Linked DNA regions of Homo sapiens: regions 1 and 2 are each linked to region 3. Evidence: promoter capture Hi-C in human tissues and cell types (Jung and others, 2019). All regions are on one chromosome and are shown on one strand. The core of a region is centred on a gene start or on the middle of the fragment in contact, and the rest is flanking DNA. Distances in the headings are between cores, read along the strand shown.

Evidence for each region. The method cuts DNA at HindIII sites, captures the fragments that hold promoters and counts their contacts. A contact is called where the count stands out against the background at its distance.
Region 1: a fragment that was not itself captured here is called in contact with the fragment with the promoter of APPBP2 in region 3 in 1 of the 25 tissues and cell types used here (hippocampus).
Region 2: a contact is called between a fragment that was not itself captured here and the fragment with the promoter of APPBP2 in region 3, in 3 of the 25 tissues and cell types used here (IMR-90 fibroblasts, bladder and lymphoblastoid cells).

What each region holds. Positions count from the first base shown.
Region 1 is chr17:60,229,130-60,232,247 of GRCh38, reverse strand. All of the region lies in intron 12 of USP32 (ubiquitin specific peptidase 32), which reads left to right. It also overlaps SCARNA20. Among named protein-coding and RNA genes, the nearest start is that of CA4, 81 kb to the right of the region's middle. The HindIII fragment of the contact is 6,309 bases long and covers 1-3,118 here.
Region 2 is chr17:60,187,841-60,191,273 of GRCh38, reverse strand. USP32 (ubiquitin specific peptidase 32) reads left to right here. Exons shown (of 34, transcript NM_032582.4): 29 at 591-711. Among named protein-coding and RNA genes, the nearest start is that of CA4, 40 kb to the right of the region's middle. The HindIII fragment of the contact is 9,453 bases long and covers 1-3,433 here.
Region 3 is chr17:60,524,629-60,528,046 of GRCh38, reverse strand. APPBP2 (amyloid beta precursor protein binding protein 2) reads left to right here and starts at 1,805. Exons shown (of 13, transcript NM_006380.5): 1 at 1,805-2,253. The coding sequence starts at 2,116. RefSeq lists a silencer at 1,976-2,115 and enhancers at 2,196-2,465, 2,186-2,894. The HindIII fragment of the contact is 9,879 bases long and covers 1-2,627 here.

The DNA.
Region 1 (3,118 bases), core at 371-2,870, 300 kb after region 3:
TGAGCCGAGATCATGCCACTGCACACCATCCTGGATGACAGAGTGAGACTCCATCTCAAAAAAAAAAAAAAAAAAAAAAGAAAAAGAAAATTAGTGTTGACATGTCAGATAATTTGATCTTAGAGCTTCATCTGCCTACCTAAGAGAGTACTTAGCTTTAATTTTTTCTCTTCATAAAATGACATATTTACTTACGAATATTACTAATTGTGAGGGTAGTATGTTTCAAATACTGGCAAGACTAAATGGAAAGATCAGAGACCAAGGGATCAGGAAAAATGAGCCATCCTTTCTTAGAAGTGGCTAACCCCAGATTTGCTGATTCACTGGAGCATGAATAATTTGATTGTGTCTCTGCTCATGGAATCTTACCAGTCTTTCCCCGCTTTAATGTGTCAAGCTTTATTCTTCTATGTGTAATCTCCTAAAAAAATGTAAATGGGGAAGAATGGTGAAATCTTTTCTATCATTATTACATTACATAATGTGTATCTTCCTTTTTGAGAACTATGAAGGAGCAGCTATTACTATTCACATGCAGATTTTCCTATTTAGTTATCACGTAACTTTAGAGCTAGAAGATACTTTAAATCACCTTTCGTGCCTCTCTCCCATGGGCTTTGGGGGGTCCCTGTTCTCCTTAGCCAAGGCTGGAGGCCAAGAGCAGCCCTCGAGGATCGTCGTCAGGACTGCCACGAGTGGGGCAGCCTTGTTTTCCTGCCTCAGACATGTGTAGTTGAGTGGGAAATAAAAGGAATGAAACACCTCTCTTCTCTGAATTTACAAATGAAGCCTCTGAGGTCCTTAGGTTTTATAATTGCCCAAAGCTGTATCAGACAATTATTTTATTACTTTATCTAGCACTCTAGAGCTCAGTGTCCTGAGTCCTGCCTTAGTACCTAATCTGTTGCTCCATGCTGCCCTCTATTTTTCCAAAGCTAGCATTTCAGTCACTAGTGAAATATGAAATTGACATAACTGTTAATTGATTCTTGTAACATACCTATGTACAGGGCATAAAAAGTAGTAGTATCATCAATAGAGAAAAAGGTGAATCTTGACCCATATTTTAGAACACATAAACTATTTATACAACTCACAGGGAATCCTAAAATCTCAAAATAAAATTCTCTTATATTAAAATAAGTACCTAGTCCTTTTGTGAATTGTTGACTCAGAAAATGAGGACATTTCTCTCTACAGGTGAAACTTTACCTATTTAGAAATCTATCTTCTGAAAACCAGGGTTCTAGGATAATTTTGAATAGTTCCAGACCCCTGAAGTCAATAAAAACAAAACATGATCCTTTGATGTTTTAGAAAAACAAAAATTTCCGCAAGCAGCCAGAAATGAACAGTCAAAAAAAGCTAGTGACTCTAAGATTCTGCAATATATAACTGTGATTGGTTTGTTCATCTTATAGAAGGAAAGTGGTAATAAGATTAATCGGATGAAAAGGTAGCTATTTCACTGAAAGCCAAGAAGGGTAGAAGGAACAAGAAAAATAAGCGTGTAGGAAGGGGAAGAAGGAACCTGAGTTGTGCTGACAGTTTCAGGCAGTGGAGAACAGTGAGAGCATCAGGTTCCTGTAATAGAAAAGAAAGCCGAAGACAATGAGAAGACAGACCAGTCTAGTTTGTTTGGAGCATTGGAAGAGAAGCAAAGAAAAGCCCATATTCTCCAAGTCTAAAGGTTATTACTCACTGTACCATGTTAAAAGCATGTGGTAGAACCGCAGTTGCTAGAGGCAAATGTTGCAATCTCTGAGAAGTTATTAGAATCATCCTGTTCACAAATTATTATAAAATTTAGCCTAGCAAATTTAATGCCTGGTAATATTTTTATTATCCTGTTTTCTTGCCAGTGATATATATAGATTTAACCTATGGACTGAGCTCTTCAGAATGAGAAGCATTATTACAGGAATGGTTTCATTTACATTTTCTTTAGAAACATAGGCACCATGTAAGACTTTCAAACATGTTAAAACATTTAAGATACAATTCCAAATATTACTCCTTGAAATTCTCTTACATGCCCATCTTAGAGGAAAACTTGAAGAAAATTGTTTGCTCAAATAGACCCAATCTTCCTCAAAATATATTACTACAAATTTTTTAGAAAGTAATTTGTGGTCGGGCGCAGTGACTCACGCCTGTAACCCCAGCACTTTGGGAGGCCAAGGCAGGTGGATCACCTGAGGTCAGGGGTTCAAGACCAGCCTGGCCAACGTGGCGAAACCCTGTCTCCACCAGAAATACAAAAATTAGCCAGGCGCAGTGGTGCGTGCCTGTAATCCCAGCTACTCCGGAGGCTGAGGCAGGAGAATTGCTTGAACCCAGGAGGCAGAGGTTGCAGTGACCCAACATTGCACCACTGCACTCCAGCCTGGGCAACAAAGCGAGACTCTGTCTCAAAAAAAGAAGGAAAAAAAAAGTAATTTGTAATGCATCAACTTTATATAAATGGAATATAGAAGTGAGTATAAATTTATAAACGGATTACCTTGCCAAAAATGTGATGGTTATTGAAACATCATTTAAGATCACTTATAGCAAAACTAAAGTGATTTTTCTGGAGGAAAACAAAGTGACTTGGAAGACTTTAATTTTTCTCAAAGGTGGCGCTGTTACTCTTTCAAAATGGTTTTGCTGTCTGTCTTGCTCCATCTTTATGGGCAGGAAGCAAATGACCTGAAAACTAAATAAATCTAAATCTTCTTCTAAAACACAAGTTCCAGAGCAGGTAGCAGATTTAATAACAAGTCAATTTCTAAGCTCTTAACATCTGGAGCACATTATAAAAACAAATGCATGAGACTATAATCCTCACTAGGGCAATAGTTATTAATTCTGGCTGCATATGTAGTGAGATCACATAGAGAACTTTAAAAATGAAAAAATGCCTTTGGCCGGGTGACTCATGCCTGTAATCCTAGTACTTTGGGAGGCCAAGGCAGGAGGATTGTTTGGATCCTCCAGGAGTTTGAGACCAGTCTGGGTAACATATTGAGACCCCATCTCTATGAAAACTTTAAAAATTAGTTGGGCATGGTGATGCATGCCTGTGGTCCTAGCTGAGGTGGAAGGATCACTTGAGCTCAGGAGTTCAAGGGTA
Region 2 (3,433 bases), core at 858-3,357, 340 kb after region 3:
CCTGCCACCATGCCTGGCTAATTTTTGTAGTTTTAGTAGAGACAGGGTTTCACCATGTTGGTCAGACTGGTCTCGACCTCCTGACCTCAGGTGATCCACCCACCTCGGCCTCCCAAAGTGCTGGGATTACAGGCATGAGCCACCATGCCCGGCCCCTGTAAACTTTTATATGCATTTATTTAATCTGCCATTTTACAGACAAGGAGCTAGGTGTTACACCAGATAAATTGTCCTACCTCAGAGCATTCAATAACTGAATTTGGAATTTCTTGAGTGCTGTAGTATCTCAAACAGGCAATTCCCATGTCATTTATTTGCCATAAAGTTCACATCTTCCTGTGATTAACAGGTGGTTATCAAGTACTTTGTAAAAATAAAGACTTGAAAAATGAAAAGCATGATTCCCTGAAACTGTACTAATTATTAATAAGTATCCCTACATTTATCAGAGTCTGAAGTTAGAAGCCCATGACAAATTGTGAGGCCCAAGAGGAAAGCAGAAAAGTAGGAAGGGAGAATATTTTTTATTAAGAAAATTTAGATTCCTTCATAATTATTTCTTCCTCTGTGGATCTTTTCCCCCTTTTTAGATTTTGCAGAGGCTGTAAAATTGATTGTGGGGAAGACAGAGCTTTCATTGGAAATGCCTATATCGCTGTGGATTGGGATCCCACAGCCCTTCACCTTCGCTATCAAACATCCCAGGAAAGGGTAAGTATTTAGGGCCACCATAAAATGGTGGTTTTTATATGAGAAATTTCCACCAGTGTAACTATTATGCCATTTCTGTTTTAGACAATTTAAAAACAACCAGAAAAACCTTCATTGGCATCCTCTATGGCACCTAATATATTGACATGTTTGCTTGAGCTTTTTCATTTTCCAACTTCTGGAGTTCATTGTATTGGGGCATTGTCTTTGTCCATTTTGTGTTGCTATAACAGAGTACGTGAGGCTGGTAACTTGTAAAGAAAAGAGGTTTATTTAGCTTACTGTTCGGCAGCCTGGGAAGTTCAAGGACATGGTCCTGGCTTCTGGCAAAGGCTTCTGTGCTGCATCATAACATGGCAGAGAAGATCAAAGGAGAACAGACACAGGCAAGAGGGAGGACCAAACAGGAGGAAGATCCTCGCTTTCTAACAGCCCGCTCTCTTGGAAACTAAGTTCTCAGAAGGAGAACTCAACTACTGCAAGAATGGCACCAACCATTTACAAGAGTTTCACCCCTATGACCCAAACACCTCCTGCTAGGCCCCACCTCCTAACAACGCCACATTGGGAATCAGATTTCAACATGCATTTTGATGGAGACAAATAAACCATGTCCAAACTATAGCAGGCATTAAATTTCAAAAATATTAATAAGTGAACCTTGAAACAAAACTGTGTCTGGCCATGACATATCAATAAGCATCTCTCTGTTAAATATTATTGAAGTTGCAGCATTTGGTAACCACAGTTACTTAGTTCAAATGTGTCCCAGGGCTATAGCTGCTGCCTTTAATAGGCAGAGTGATCAGAAAAGTTACAGAAAGGATTGAAATGTTTCCATTTTGGGTACCTAAGAGCACATCTCAGTGGCCACTCTTTGCACTTCACATTCTTCTATTGTCACTGTCTGGCCAGAGCAATTTTTAAATTTTGAAAATGTTGCTTCAGAAATAATTTTAACTCCATACCTAAAAATGTTTGCCTCAGGCAGTTTTTAATCAACCAAATATTATTTGAATGGTAAAGACATTAAGAATCTGATAGAGAGGTAAAAACAACAGAGTCAAAGGAGTTCCTTAAGTCACATGAGGAATTGTAGTGGTTTTTGCATTTTTATGGCTCTTGATAGTTGGAAATTTCCTTTACTATTTTTTAAAGCATTCCCTTTGGATAAGTTAGTAACGGTAACTGACTTTTCTGTCTTGTTGTGCTATGGAGGACTGGGGAAACTACCAATTCTAGACCTAGTTTCTTATTTAGATCCCAAAATATGCCGCACACACCAAGGCTCCTGGGAGCCCTTTCTAGCCAGAAATAAGTATAATTTGTGGATACTTGTCAAATGAAAGATCACTAGGCTAAAGCTAAAGAAAGCTGAAGAGAAACTAATGTTCTAGATCATGCTCACTAGCAAGGAGGGAAAATTTTACTAGTTGATAGATTCATAAATCTTTGTCAGCACAAAATCTGACAAGACATTACTGTCAATGATGACAAATTATTTGGCTCTATAAATCTCTTCCCCTTTTTAACAAATCCAGTGTGCAATCGGAAAAGCTCTTTAGGACATCCTGCTTATAGGAAACGGCCTACGTGACCTGTTAAATCTCACCCTACTTCCACTTTCAGTGATGCACTTAGGATACCATGGAAGTGAAGGGCTATTGATGCCTTGCTAGGGAGTGGGCCCATATGACTAATCTGGGCTCCCCTACATGTAGGGTTTCTGAATGTGCTTAGAAAGTCATGTAGACAAAAGAGATACCGTGGTTTAAATTGGGATTATTGCCCATATACTTTATATTTTTTATTCCAGTGATTTCCCTTTTAGGAATTTATCTGAGGGGAGAATACTCTGTAATTACTCCATAATTTGCAGGCAAATATCATCATAGCATTTTTTAGAATAGCAAAAAGTTATTAACAACTTATATTTGTCTCACATTAGAGGAATGGTTAAATAAAGCATGGTGTATTCATTGGATAAAATATAATGCGGTTGTTGAAAATGATTACCAGGAGTTTTTGCTAACATTTATGGGAACAAGCTTATGATATGTGAACATTTTTTAAAAAACAAGACATAAAGTTGCATATACTGGAAATAATACCTTCAATATTGAAAAAAATACTATTTAGGAAAGAGGACAGAAGAAAATCTGCCAATATTTTGACAGTGGTTGCCTTTGTATTAAGAATATAATTAAGAATATAAAAGGATTCCCTGCCTTTTAACATTTTTCTCTGCTTTCCAACATGAATATTATACCTAGTAATCAGAAAAAAAACAGAGGCAATCACTCTTATCCTTTACATTTCTCTCCTGTTGGGACCTCAGATTCCTCAGTAGAAAATTAAACTGGATGCCAGCCTGGGCAATATGATGTCACCCTGTCTTTACAAAAAATGCACAGATTAGCCAGGTGTGGTGGTGTGCACCTGTAGTCCCAGCTACTTGGGAGGCTGAGGTTGGAGGGCTGCTTGAACCCAAGAGATCAAGGCTGCAGTGAGCTGTGATCTCGCCAGTGCACTCCAGCCTGGGTAACAGAGCAAGAACCTGTCTCAAAAAAACAAAAAAAGAAAGAAAAAAAGAAAATTAAGCTAGACAAATTCTTAGGCCACTCTCTTTTTTTCAATAGTCTTCTATGAAAACTATTACTTCATTTCCTGTGTTTTGTGTTAAAGATGAGCTTTAAAGTAACTTTGAAAAAGAAGAGGGTGC
Region 3 (3,418 bases), core at 556-3,055:
CACCCAGGCTGGAGTGCAGTGGCATGATCATGGCTCACTCAACATTCTGGGCTCAAGTAATCCTCCTGCCTCAGCCTCCTGAGTAGCTAGGACTACAGGTGCACACCACCACATGTGGCTATTTTTTTTTTGTAGAGATGGGGTCTTGCTATGTTGCCCAGGCTGGTCACAAATAAGTTTTTAGTATAAATATGTCCCCTGCAATATTTGCAGAGATAATAATTATTCTTTTATGTGGGGCAGGGATCCTGATCTTCAAAAGCGCCAGTGTCTAAGAAGTGATGAAGGATTTGCTGAATGAACTGATACACTTGAGTGGCTCCGAAGGCATGAGCAAAACTATTGCACAGAACATACTTACATTTCAAAACCATTTGTTGTTTATCTGACATTAAGATGTGACTGGGCACTTGTAATTTTTTTTTTCTTTTTTTTGAGACGGAGTCTCGCTCTGTTGCCCAGGCTGGAGTGCAGTGGCGCGATCCTGGCTCACTGCAAGCTCCGCCTCCCGGGTTCACGCCATTCTCCTGCCTCAGCCTCCCGAGTAGCTGGGACTACAGGCGCCCGCCACCACGGGCTAATTTTTTGTATTTTTAGTAAAGACGGGGTTTCACCGTGTTAGCCAGGATGGTCTCGATCTCCTGACCTCGTGATCCACCCGCCTCGGCCTCCCAAGTGCTGAGATTACAGGTGTGAGCCACCGCGCCCAGCCTTGTAGTTTTTTACTTGCTAAACTGGCAATCTGATCTTGAGGCCATCCACAGCTTTCCTAGGTTCACAGTATAGAGTAAGAATTTATATAGACTGAAGAAGATTAAGAGTGTTTATTTTTTGTGGAATTATTTAACCACTTAACACTGAAGTACCAGGTGAAGGGTAAATTGAAATAACTCTTTCCACTTCTTTTAGCTCTAAATATCAATCAGGACATTATTATTATGGCTGTTTTCTGGACTTACATCGTTATAGAGTGACTATGAGTTTGATAGTGTCACCAACAATTATGGCCAATAATTTCCATGGTAAATTCCTAGAACAGAAAGATGTTGCATCAAATTCTTGAAATCGCAGACTTAGGAAATTAAGTTACATAAACAGCAGATGTTCAGGCTGAGGAAGGAAAGAAGCTGAAACAAGTACTCCCAATTATTCAACAATCCCTTGAAGCCGCCACTGTAACTCTGGGAATTGAAATACCATTAAGTCCTATCACGGCCACCACTTAGCCTTTTTTCTCTTACTATTATTTGTAATTCCATAATCAAGCTAGTTTTCCTACGAAGTTCTGGGGCAGGAGTTTTCTTTTTTCGGAAATTTCATTTGGATAAAGAAACATGGTCAAAAAGTTACAACGGTGCAAATGGTTATACAAAGAAAAACAAGTCTCTCTTCTATCGTTACCCCTAGTTCCTGGACCGCGGGTTCTTAACTTGGGTTAGGAACTGCAGTCTAAGGGTTTCTAGAGTAATGTGAATTTTCTCAATGCATAATTTTCAATGTACAGATAATTTTGCTCGTTTGTGGGGAGAGGATCCAAACTTTTACCTGAGCCTCAAAAGGGTCCGTGATGCAGAGAACCTGCTGAAGTAACCGATGGCCCCGAGTGACTCGGAACAGGGGGCGCAGATATCCTGTAATAATTTGTCCCCGTGTGAAAAGTCTACCCCTATCCACTCCACTCCACTCCACTCCGGGGCCGCTTGGAAGGGACGCTCTCCGTGGGAGGCATCCAGCTCTTCCTAAGTTTTCCGCCTGCCGCATTCCTCCCCTCCGGCGCGCCGGCGTGCGCTTACGTCATGACGCCGCACACGCAGCCCCGCCCCTGCAGAGATCAGCGCTGGGACGGAACCCGGGTTCCTCTCGAACCGGGATTGTGACGCTTTTGGCCTGGCTGGCCGCTGTTTTCTGTCCCACTTTTTACTCGGGCCTGCGTCCGCTGCCGCCGTCCCTCAGTTTGCCCCCGGAGGAGGCAGGGCGGCCGTGCCTTCTGCCGTGCGCCCGCGTGGCTGCCACCGCCCCTCCGAATCCTCCGGGGCCGCAGAGGGGTTCGCTACGGAGGGAGGTGGGGGCCTTCGGGAGGAGGAGGCGGAGGAGGCGGAGGAGGAGGGAAGGAAGATGGCGGCCGTGGAACTAGAGTGGATCCCAGAGACTCTCTATAACACCGCCATCTCCGCTGTCGTGGACAACTACATCCGCTCCCGCCGAGACATCCGCTCCTTGCCCGAGAACATCCAGTTTGATGTTTACTACAAGGTATGCGCCGTGGGCCTCCTCTCTGCTCTCCTCCAGCAACCCCGGGGGCCGCACCCCCTTCCACGTCTGCGAACCCCCGCAGTTAACCCCTCACCCCTTCCGGCAGACTTGCCTCCCGAAACGTCTGGTGCGGTGTCTGCATTGCCAGTGGAGAAGCACCCCATCTCCCTATGCCCTGTCTCTTAAGCTTTGGGGCCTTGAAGTAATCTTGGGGAGTCTTGCTCCCTGTTGGTGTTCCCTTCTACACAGTGGCCCTCTTGGGTAGGCCTTTTGCGTGGACTTACTCTATCGCGCCCCTGTCCCACCTAGTCCTTTCCTTCTAGCCCGTATCTTCAGGATATTTTCCATCCTCTCCTTCCAATTAAGTGTCAGCATCAGCTGGACTTTTTTCCGTGCTCCTCCCCCCACCCATTCCTACTTTCTCATCTCGCCGCCTTCCTTCCCCGAGTGTTTTGGTGTTTTTGCTTCGTGTTCCTTCGTTTCTCCTTTCTTTTCCCAATTGGGAAGGAGTTAGGGATTATTGGAAATAATCTGTGTGTTTTATTTGCATATTCTTTAAAGCTTTGATTTTTTTGTGGGAGAGGAGGGGCTCTATACTTGAATTAGGGATTTTGTGAAAATGGGAGTGCTGATCAACTGTTTGAAGAGGACAGGGAGAGATCTTTACTGAAAGAAAAAAACACTTTAGATTATGTTCCTGTGTTTGAAAGTTGCAATCTTGCAGCATTCTTAAATCACTCCCCCTCAAAAATCTGAACAGCAAGTCTCCCAAGCCACTCTCCAAGGAGTTTCAAGGGTAAGTGTCCTTAGATGTGGACTATTTTTGCAGTGTTTTCAGAGTGTGGAGAACTTTATGGACTCAGAGCCTGCCCTTTTCTCTCCCCCACATTTGAATGTGAACACTGGATTTATTATTCAGTCTTCCTTGTCTTGAATCCGCGTCGATAACTCCTAGTGTCCAGTAGCCACCCATGCAAAATGTGACTAAAAGTAGAATGTAATTTATTTTTTAGACCTTAAATACTTCCTCTTGATCTGTAAGTTGGCTGGAACAGTGTAAACTGATATTTTAACAGATGTTTATGTTCTTACGTATGTACAGTGTTTTGTGGCAGTTGTTTTATTGGGAAGATTGCCTGCTTTCTCCACCCCTAGATTTTTTTTT